Linked DNA regions of Homo sapiens: region 1 is linked to region 2. The links are contacts of gene promoters, found by promoter capture Hi-C in blood cells and fetal thymus (Javierre and others, 2016). All regions are on one chromosome and are shown on one strand. Each heading gives the region's core, a stretch centred on a gene start or on the middle of the fragment in contact. The rest is flanking DNA. Distances are from core to core; before and after follow the strand shown. Region 1 overlaps EIPR1 (EARP complex and GARP complex interacting protein 1). Region 2 holds the start of CMPK2 (cytidine/uridine monophosphate kinase 2).

What was found. Contacts are between HindIII fragments. The CHiCAGO score rates a contact against its expected background, and 5 or more counts as called.
Region 1: a fragment that was not itself captured here is called in contact with the fragment with the promoter of CMPK2 in region 2 in 1 of 17 cell types (M0 macrophages); the score reaches 8.1 in M0 macrophages.

The regions. Positions count from the first base shown.
Region 1 is chr2:3,232,593-3,237,189 of GRCh38, forward strand. The region is part of intron 4 of EIPR1 (EARP complex and GARP complex interacting protein 1); the gene reads right to left. Among named protein-coding and RNA genes, the nearest start is that of LINC01250, 110 kb to the left of the region's middle. RefSeq lists an enhancer at 1,490-2,689. The HindIII fragment of the contact is 5,453 bases long and covers 1-4,295 here.
Region 2 is chr2:6,864,327-6,869,123 of GRCh38, forward strand. It overlaps CMPK2 (cytidine/uridine monophosphate kinase 2), which reads right to left and starts at 1,581. Exons shown (of 5, transcript NM_207315.4): 1 at 696-1,581. The coding sequence starts at 1,370. It also overlaps a transcript of RSAD2 not described here. RefSeq lists silencers at 892-1,331, 1,572-1,841 and an enhancer at 1,352-1,571. The HindIII fragment of the contact is 2,067 bases long and covers 42-2,108 here.

The sequences.
Region 1 (4,597 bases), core at 319-2,818, 3.6 Mb before region 2:
TTGAGGTGCATCATCCGTCTTTTGCCTGCTTCACTGAGCACAGGCCAGTTATGACCCATTTCAACACTGTTAGGACAGCATCACACTCACTCTCCTCTCAGGGGAGAGAGCCGGTTCCCCCATGTTGAATAGGCCTGAATAGGGTTTGCTTTTATGAAAATTTAGTCAGCAGCCCCGTGGATGGTTATCTACTCCGTCTCTGTTTCTGTGTGTGTCCCTGTCTGCACTGGCTTCTCTCCTCTCTCAACCACCCTGAAAAGCACATACACTTAGATGTAACGAGTTTTGCTAACAAAATAATAAATAGCCCTAAGTGGGCATTAAAGAAGTTCTCCTCTGAGTAAAACACAAGAAGCCTCTTGCCTTTGCGAAGTCTCACGTTAAGCTGTATTACTTTACACTGTAAACGCAAAGTCATATATGCCCATTAAAAAGTTTAAAACTTTAGAAAAGTAGAAGTCTCTCATACTCCCACCCACAGATGATAACTACTGTTAATAAGTGATTGATATGCAGCTTTCCAGGTCTTTTCTATGCATACAGTGGTATGTATAATACAATCATAATCATTACTTACAAACATGTGATCAGGCTATTAATGTTATTCTGCAACTTGCTTTTTTTTTTAACTTAAAATATATCCTGGGTAACTTTCCATATCAAATAGATATAATTCTTTCCAAAGGGCACACAGAATTCTATCGTGTGAATTTCCATAATTTTTTAATCCAATTCCCATGTATGCCACTTCAGTTGTTTCCAATTTTTCACACAATTGATTCATACAATGAAGCAGTAAGTATCCTGGAGAAAGACTTCTTGGCACACTTTAGGGTAAGTGCTTAGAGCTATAATTGCTGGGCCAAAACACAGACATGTTTCCCAAATTGTCTTCCTAGAATGTGCATTTCCCCCGGCATTCTCAGGGACACTGGATCCCAGCCGTAACTGTGATAATGACCGTGCTGATCCCTTCCCCAAGCCAACCTCACAGGGTATGTCTTCGCTGCTTTAATCTGCGTTTTCTAACAACTAGGAAGTTTGTCCACCCGTCAAGTGTGTACTGGCTGCTTCTCACACATCTGTGAATTGCTTCTTCATTCATTGCATCTATTTTGGAAGTCAAGCTAAGGAGCCTTCAAAGGAAAGTCTGTTGACTTGTTCTTCATCAAAGTTCCATCTGGGTAAAATGTCCAGTGAGCTGAGGCCTAAGTGGGTGAAGAATTACAGCAATAGAGAAGTTACTTACTTTTCCCTTAGAACTTTAAAAATCTCAAAGATAGGAGTCAAAGTTCTCAGCACCCTGAGCAGGTGTCAGGCTTTCTCTATAAGGGGCTCAATGACAAGTATTTTCAGTTTTGTGGGCCAGGTCAGGCTTCTGAGCTACTCAGCTCTGTCACTGTAACATAAAAGTGGCTACAGACAATATATGACCAAAGGGTAGCAGCCAGGATCCAACAGAACTTTATTTACACAAGCAGGCAGCAGGCTGGATTAGGCCCAGGGCCACAGAGTGAGGGCGTGGTGTGGATCCATATTACTGCTAGAATTAAAAATGAAACAAAACAAAAAACTTGCAGGAATGAGGGCACATGTGTTTGGCATGTCTTGTATTTTGCTGTTTTTTTTACCAATAAATTGTGGTTTGTGTCGCTCAATGTCACTGGCTGAAAATACCTAATACATCGCATGCTTAAATTCTGAAACTGAAAAGCCAACTTTTTGCTTTAAACATGTCTGACTGAACCACTCAGAATTCCTTCTTGTTTCTCTACCTTTTCCATCTTTAACAACAGGCAAGAGTCCCCAAGAGCAGGCAGGAGTTCTCCGTGTCGGCTGGGGACACCCACGTGGGAGGACATCGCATCGAGGCTCCGGCAGCCAGGGCCCTGTGTCACGACGCTCCACACTGGGGAGGCCCAACATGGTGAATGCACAATAAATAAGACCAGACCCAGGCTGCCAGAGCCCAGGGCCGTGGCGGTCAACACCCTGATAGAAGGGGAAAAAGAAAGTCTCATCCCTCACTCCTGTTGGGGTCCCCTGCAGCCCCTGCGTCACTACAGCACACACTGTAAAAGTGCGGGACGCTGTTGAATTACAAGCGGCAGCATTCACAAAACTGAGCCCCACTCCGCGGAAGCCTCTGCAGTCTCTCTCCAAGCCCTGCCCTTGCACTGGAAGATGCTCCTACTTTGCACAAGAGACCTGCTCTCTTGAGTGTCAAAATCCTGTGCTTTGAAGTAAGTGTTCATCTCTGAGGTCACAAGGCCATGGCCTCCAAAAGACACTCCAGAGAGTTTAGCTAACCAGCTGGTCCCGGGCCTGTGGCCACATCCCTAATCTGTCATCAGTTTTTCCTTGCTGGGATAGGAACTTGACTCCTCAAGAAAATAGCTTTCTCTTTCATAAAAGGTGAGAAAAGAATTTCAGCAAGGTAATTATCCTGCCTTTTAAGTCTGTGTGTGTTTTCCACCGGCAAGTTAGAACAGTTTCAGACTAACATGCAAACTTGCACATCAAAAACTCTGGAAGATGCAAATTGAAAAGGAAAAAGAAAATGACAACCTCTGATGGCTGCTTACCTGTTATTCACTCACTACCCTCTTCAAAGATGTATGAGCCAGATGAGTGCTACAAATGACTTAAAAAGGTGACGCCGACATGGAGCCACAGGAATAGGTCACATCCCCTCAGCTCCTCCCTCTTCTTGGCCTCAACCGGCCTTCATCTGAAGAATAAGAGCTATGACCATCTGCACAGCAGTGGGTGGCTTCTGTGTTACCAAAGGTTTCCTTTAGAAACACAAACATGTGTGCATGCGGGTGCGCACACACACACACACACGCGTGCGCGCACACACACACACACCCCCCAATAGCCAGAGCTCTCAGCGACTTCCCAAGGTGACTGGCAAGTGCTCAAGTGGGCCAGGTCCTTCAGGTCCACGCTACAGCACTGCCTAATTTTTCAAAGCACCCGACAAGCGTGGAAACCTTGTGGTGCCCCTGCAATTACAGCTCTTTGAAGAAGTCTCAAATGAACTTAATTCAACTCTAAGTTTTTGCCAAACTTATTTTAAGATTCCACACATTTATTATAGAATGCAGGATTTTAAAGGCTTATCACATAATACAAATGAACAAAATTACCAGAAAGGACATCAAAATCCTTTTCTTTGAGCAATAATTCCTTGTTATTAATCAGATTTCCTGGTATTTATTGACCCATGTCAGCACTTGGTCCAGAGGTAAAGAATGCCCCAAATTAGCACCCATCACCTGACCATTGCATCCTAAGCTCTGCATGAAAGCTGGAGCTTTACGACAGCTCTCCCTCCCAGTGAGACCCTCGGAGCAGGACTTAGGTGGAGAAAAGTGGGTTTTGCCAAATGGGCACTAGTAATCACGGTAAGAGCAACATCAACACCCGGGCACTCCTGTTGACATGCTAAGAGCGCCTCCACATGCATGAAGGTGCTGGCACCACACCACTCTCCCGCCACCTAGAAATGAACAGTCACAGCCCGCAGCACAGAACTGAACAACCCTGTGAGGCAGGGAGGCTGTCATGACATCGCCGTACGTGTACTGTATGTTAAAGTCTACAGAATACTGTTATATCCACCAAGAATATGTGGGAAAAAGCATGAACTGCGCAGGAAAACAATGATTAAAGATGGGAAACTGGGCTCAGAGAGTTCTGTTAAGGAACCTGGCCAACATGGCATCTCTGGCAAGTCAGGAACAAATCCCAGTCCTCATCCTTGTCCCTCGCTGCCTGGCCCAGGGACATGAGCAGAGGCTGGGACTGATGACAGCCATGAGAGCTCAGCCCAGGTGATGACTTCACTCAGGAGGAGGACATGGGGATCTGTGAGCAATGCCCAAGGACCTGGCTGAAAACCACACCTGAGAAAGGTGACTACAGGGCCAGGGCAGGACACAACTCGGGCCAGGGAACAGAAGGGACGCAATCGTGGGCAAGACCAGGCAGGCCAGGTACCATTTCAGGACAGGATCCCAGAGGGCCAGCTTCACTGTAGGTGGCACCCAAGGCGTCTGCTCGGTGCAGGCCCTGGGCTACCTGGACAGCATTCTCCTTCTCACACTGACTGTGAGCCTAGGAGGTGACTCCTACGCTCTTCCTTATTGTACAGATGAGGTAACAAACACAGAAAGATGAGTGACCAGCCCCAAATTAAAAAGCTATAAATGGCAGAGCTGAGAGTCAACCAAGGGCTGACTCAGTATCTTGAGGTCTGCACGTGGCCTGAAAGCTCACAATTTTCAGGAAGCTTGTTGGCTTCAATATCACCATTAGGCAAAAGGACTAAGGCAACACTATCTGGTACCTTCAAAGCTGCTGACTATACTGATTTGTACCATGTTAACACACGAGAAAAACAAAGCCGGGTGGCTGTGATTTCCTACGGTGGCTGCAGCAGCCGCCACAGCTCCTCACAAGGCACACAAAGACGCACCCAGGGAGGGATTAGACTGAGTGATCCCCACACAGGTCCACCTGGGAGATGGGGAGGGCGAGGAGAACTGTCCAGAAAAAACCACAAATCATTAACCTGAGGAAAGAAGATCTG
Region 2 (4,797 bases), core at 331-2,830:
TTGACCTTGCGCTCTTAACTGCTCCACAACGCTGTCCCGTAAGCTTGGAAAATATTCCCAAGATCCATGGGGGCATCCTCAGGGCTCATCTGTGTCACAGGAGGACATCTGCCTAGCCTGCGATCAGAAAGAATTTTCAGTCTCTTTCTGTGGGTACCTGCTGTGAGTCAGATGTTTCCTTAATCAGGACAACATCGCAAGATGGGAATTGTACATGTCAAAGGGCAAAACTTAGAGTAGTTGAGTAACCTGCACAAGGTTCATGGCCAGTCGGTAGGTAAACACTATTTAAGTCTAAATTTCTTAAACCCCCTAAACTCATGCATTTTCTTTTTCACCCCAAGATCCTTGAATGGTGATCATCAGCAAATAAAATTACTTCCCAGCTGACATTATTTTCCCTCACTCCCGGCAGCCCCTTTACTCCCTCTGTACTGCTGTTGGGATGCTTTTACAGCAAGCATCGCGTGGCTTGGTGTAGGTCTATGTTCCACGTCAGGTTGGAAGATCCTTGCAAACAAGAATCTTAAAAGAGTTGCCTGGCATACAGGACACCTTCCCTACCTGATTTGTGAACGGAAATAAACAAACCACCCAGGCAAGAACCGGCTCTACAGACCAGCCTCTTGGTCCAGTTCTCTGGTCTGAAGGGTTCAGATGCCACGCTGGGAGCTGGAAGCGGACAGAACTCTTACCTCCTCCAAAACGGCCCGGGCGGCTTCCCGGTCCGGGAAGACCACGGAACTGGGCAAGTCTGGCACCACCGGGTGCAGCGGGGGCTCCGGGACGGGCACGACCTGTGCGCAGCCCACCTGCAGCCGCCTGCCGTCTTGCACCTCCCAGAGGCGCTGCCACAGCTGGCCGCGCGGGTCGGCCTCGAACTCGCCCAAGTGCGGGCGTGGTGCCTCCTGACAGGCGCCCAGCAGCTCGAGCAGCGCTTGCCGGGTGTCAGGGTCATCCAGGGGGTCGCGCAGCAGGAAGCCTTGCTGTGCGCCGCCGGCCTGGCCGCCCGGGCAGTAGCAGAGCAGCCTGAGCAGCTGGCACCGCTGGAAGGGGCCGCGGCGCAGCTGGTGCAGCAGGCGCTGGTGCAGCCGCGCCGCCCGGACCCGGGCCCCGCAGCCGGCGTCCGGGGTCACGGGCACGCACAGCGAGTAGCTGCGCTCCGGGGGCCCCAGCAGCGCCGCCAGGCGGGGGTCGGGGGCGTCTGCGTCGCCGGGGGCGTCGGCGCCTAGGGCGAAGTGAGCCAGGGTGCAGTCGGGAAGCTCCAGGACGAAGCGGCGCGGCGGAGCCATGGCCCCAGCGCAGACCCCGCGCCGCCCGAGCAGCGGCCCCGACAGTGGCCCGCGCAGGAGCCGGCGGGCGAAGGCCATGGGCGCCTCAGCGACGCCGCCCTCGGCCCCGCCTCGGAAACGAAACCTGGCGGGAGCCAGGCGCCGGCGGGAAACGAAACCCGGAGGGAGCCAGGCGCCAGCGGGAAACGAAAGCGAAGCGTTGCGGGGAAACGAAAGCCGGAGGCCCAGGCGGGGCAGGAGCCCTGGGGCTGGGGCGCCCTTCCGGCCTCTCCTCCTCGCCGCGAGATGTGCGCGATAAACGGCCGGCGCTCGGGAGCAGACGCTTGGCCCCGGGGCCCCAGGTGCGCGGCTCCGCGGGCCTGCGCGGTCCCCAGGCGCCGGCTCCCGGGGCTGACACCGAATGAGGCCCCGCGCCGTCGGCCCCAAGGTAGCTCCGTGTGCGTTCTGCGGGTGGCTGGCGGCCCCGACCCTGGTTTGAGTTCCTCCTCTGCGGCTTATGCCGGGTGCATGGAGGGGGGCGGGGGTGCACGCGCGAGGGACAGAGAAGTCCCTTCCCGGTGTAACGGGCTCTTCAACGCCCACTTGCAGGCGCACTACTGCCCTTGGATGACTGACCAGGCCCTGCAGACCATGGGCTCCCTCCCCGACCTCAACTCCTAGCTCTGACCACGCGTCCCCGCCCCTCTAATCCTGCAGAGCTGCTTTCCTGCGGGAACAGGGCGCAGTTCTGGCTCTTCCCTCTCCTGTATCTTATCTCACCTGTGCACTCACTCACCTGTGCACACACTCACCTTTGCACACACTCACCTGTGCACAAGCTTTTCCCTCTTCTTGGAATTGCCCTCTCCCTTTTGCTGACTCTCCAACTGGGAAGTGTCGCCCAGATTGGCACCTCGAAATCGCCTTTCTTCCACCAAATTGAAGTTTCCTGCACTAAGGTGAAGTGTGTCAGGATAGCACCCTCTGCCTGCCACAGTCCAGCATCAGCACTGTTGCTGCCTAACAGTGTAACTGCCTAACAGTGTAACAGTGTTTGCGCAGTTATTTGGATATTTTATTCTGTGTTTACTCATTAACTGATGCCTTTTAAAAATGATGTCAAGCAAACCAAAAACAAACAAAAAGATAATATTCTCCAGGGAAACTCTCTCAAAAAAATAGAATTGAGACGAAGATTGAAAACATTAGATGAGCTGAAAGCAGTTTTTTTTTTATGTCTTAATAGTATTGGACTTAAACTTGGGATTATATTTAATTCTGAAAAAAAAAGTCTTAACAAACGTGAAATATAGATAGGTGGTTGGAGTGTGGGTTAATAGGCTAAGAAGAAAGAAGAATTAGGAGTTTAAAATTTTTTAGCTCTTTGAGAATAGAATAGTTTTTATTCTTTCTCAGGAATTTCACTTTTGGACATTTAGCATGTACCGGTGGTTTCACGTGTATGTAGTATATGGAAGTAAGAGTCTTCTAGTTACTCCCTTTTCTTCTCTAAGACAGTACTGCATCCTCAAGCCTGCTTGACCTTTTCCCTATGCCATCCACCTCTCTGGATGTATTAGTCTATCCTGGCTGCCATAACAAAATACCACGGACTGGGCCGCCTAAACAATAGAAAATTTGTTTTCTCAAAGTTCAGGTGGCCAGAGAAGCTGGAGATCAAGTTGCCAGCAGGGTTTGCTTTTTCTGAGGCCTCTCTTTCTAGCGTGCAGACCGCCTCCTTCTCTCTGTGTTCTCACGGGACCTTTCCTTTGTGCTTGCATCCTTGGCGTCTCCTTGAAGTTCCAAATTTCCTCTTCTGGGAAGGACACCAGTCAGATTGGGTTAGGGCCCATCATAATGTTCTCATTTTAATGTAATCACCTATTGAAAGCCTTATTTTGAAATACAGTCATACTGTGAGGCACTGGGGGCTAGGCCTGAGCATGAATTTTGGGGGACATGATATAGCCTATAACCCCCCACATATCTGGGTTAGTAGCCTCTCCTGTGTCCCCCACCAAGGCTATTTGTATCCTCGGACCTTGACACTCCACAGTCACGTGCCAGTCTATTTCCCACCACTGAGCACCTTGAGGGTAAGTAGGAAGACCAGCTTCTTCCTAACTTTTCTCTGAGCCTCCAACTGAAAGAAAACCTGACACACAGTTTGCTAAATGAAGCATCTTACCTTTTTTAATTTAAGTTTTCCTCTCTATTTTTCACCTACCTTCGCCCTACGAAGAGATGTAAAGTTAATAACACTGCAGTATTTGGGCTTAGTCAATATTATATAAGTGTTGAAGATGTTGAAGATATATCTTCATTCATAAATAAAAATTTCTGTTAGATTTTCAAGCCCCTTCAAATTTGTAGGACAGAGACTCTGAGAGCCACAGCTGGATGTTTATATTGACTAAACATGCCTGTAGCCACCCATCGTTGCAGGTGGAAAGGAGAGAAGCTGCAGGCTGGGAAGATACTTCAAAGAGGTGTCTTTAAATGAATGAACAGCACAGCTATATCATAGGAAAAGCCATAATCTTCAACACTTACAGTATTAAACAAGAGAAAATGAAACTTTTCTAGCCATTCTGCTCCTAAGAAAAAAAGAAACAGAATGGGAGAATTAAAAATATAAATAGCAATTAATAAATAATAAAATGAAAAAATAACACTTTGAAAAAGAGCTTAGTTTTTGAAAACATGTTTAAACAGATATGTTTCTAGGTAGTTTAATTCAATTGGAAAAAGAAAGAAAATGCAAATCAGAATAGGAATAAATGAGATGATAGAACCACAAGTTCAAAAGGATACCCAAAAGAGAATATTACAAACAATTCCACATTCATAAAAGTGAATATTATAAAATAAATGATGAGCTCAGAAAATAAGAATTAATAAAATGAGCCCAGGATAGAATGTTGAGTCTATAACTCTGTAACCCAAATCCTAGGCTAGAAGTTAATGAAAGGGCTAAAAAGCACTGAGCAAGTTTCAGAGATCACTTAGTTATCAAGGAACAGATAAGCTCTCTCCCGCATAACCTTCTGTTTCTTTTTTAAATAAAAATTCATTCTAGCAATTTGTGGGCTTACAATTTGAAGAGTATTCTCCTCTCTCTTGGAGTTGGTTTTCTCACAAAGAAATGCTGTTGATACAGCTACCTTTGAGGGAAGAGTTGCCATAACAGGTCCAGCTGCTCACCCCTTGCATATCTCCACAGGAGCCTCAAACCATGATTGCTGTTGGGCCAAACTTTGGAAAGATGACCCTCCAGAGGCTCTTTATATTCATGGTTGGTGATTCTGTTATGTACACCTGGAGCAATACTCCATGACATGCCAGCTTGCGATCATTTTGCACAAACGTCAAGATTAACGATGTGCACCTCATTCATTGTCGGGGTCCTGAGATTTGGTTACTATAGCTGGGCACATGGCAGGATGTGCCTGCATATCTAGCCCTTCATATAATGGCAGACCCTGAGACTCAAACAGGCTTTTCCTGGCCAGTGGTTTCAAACACG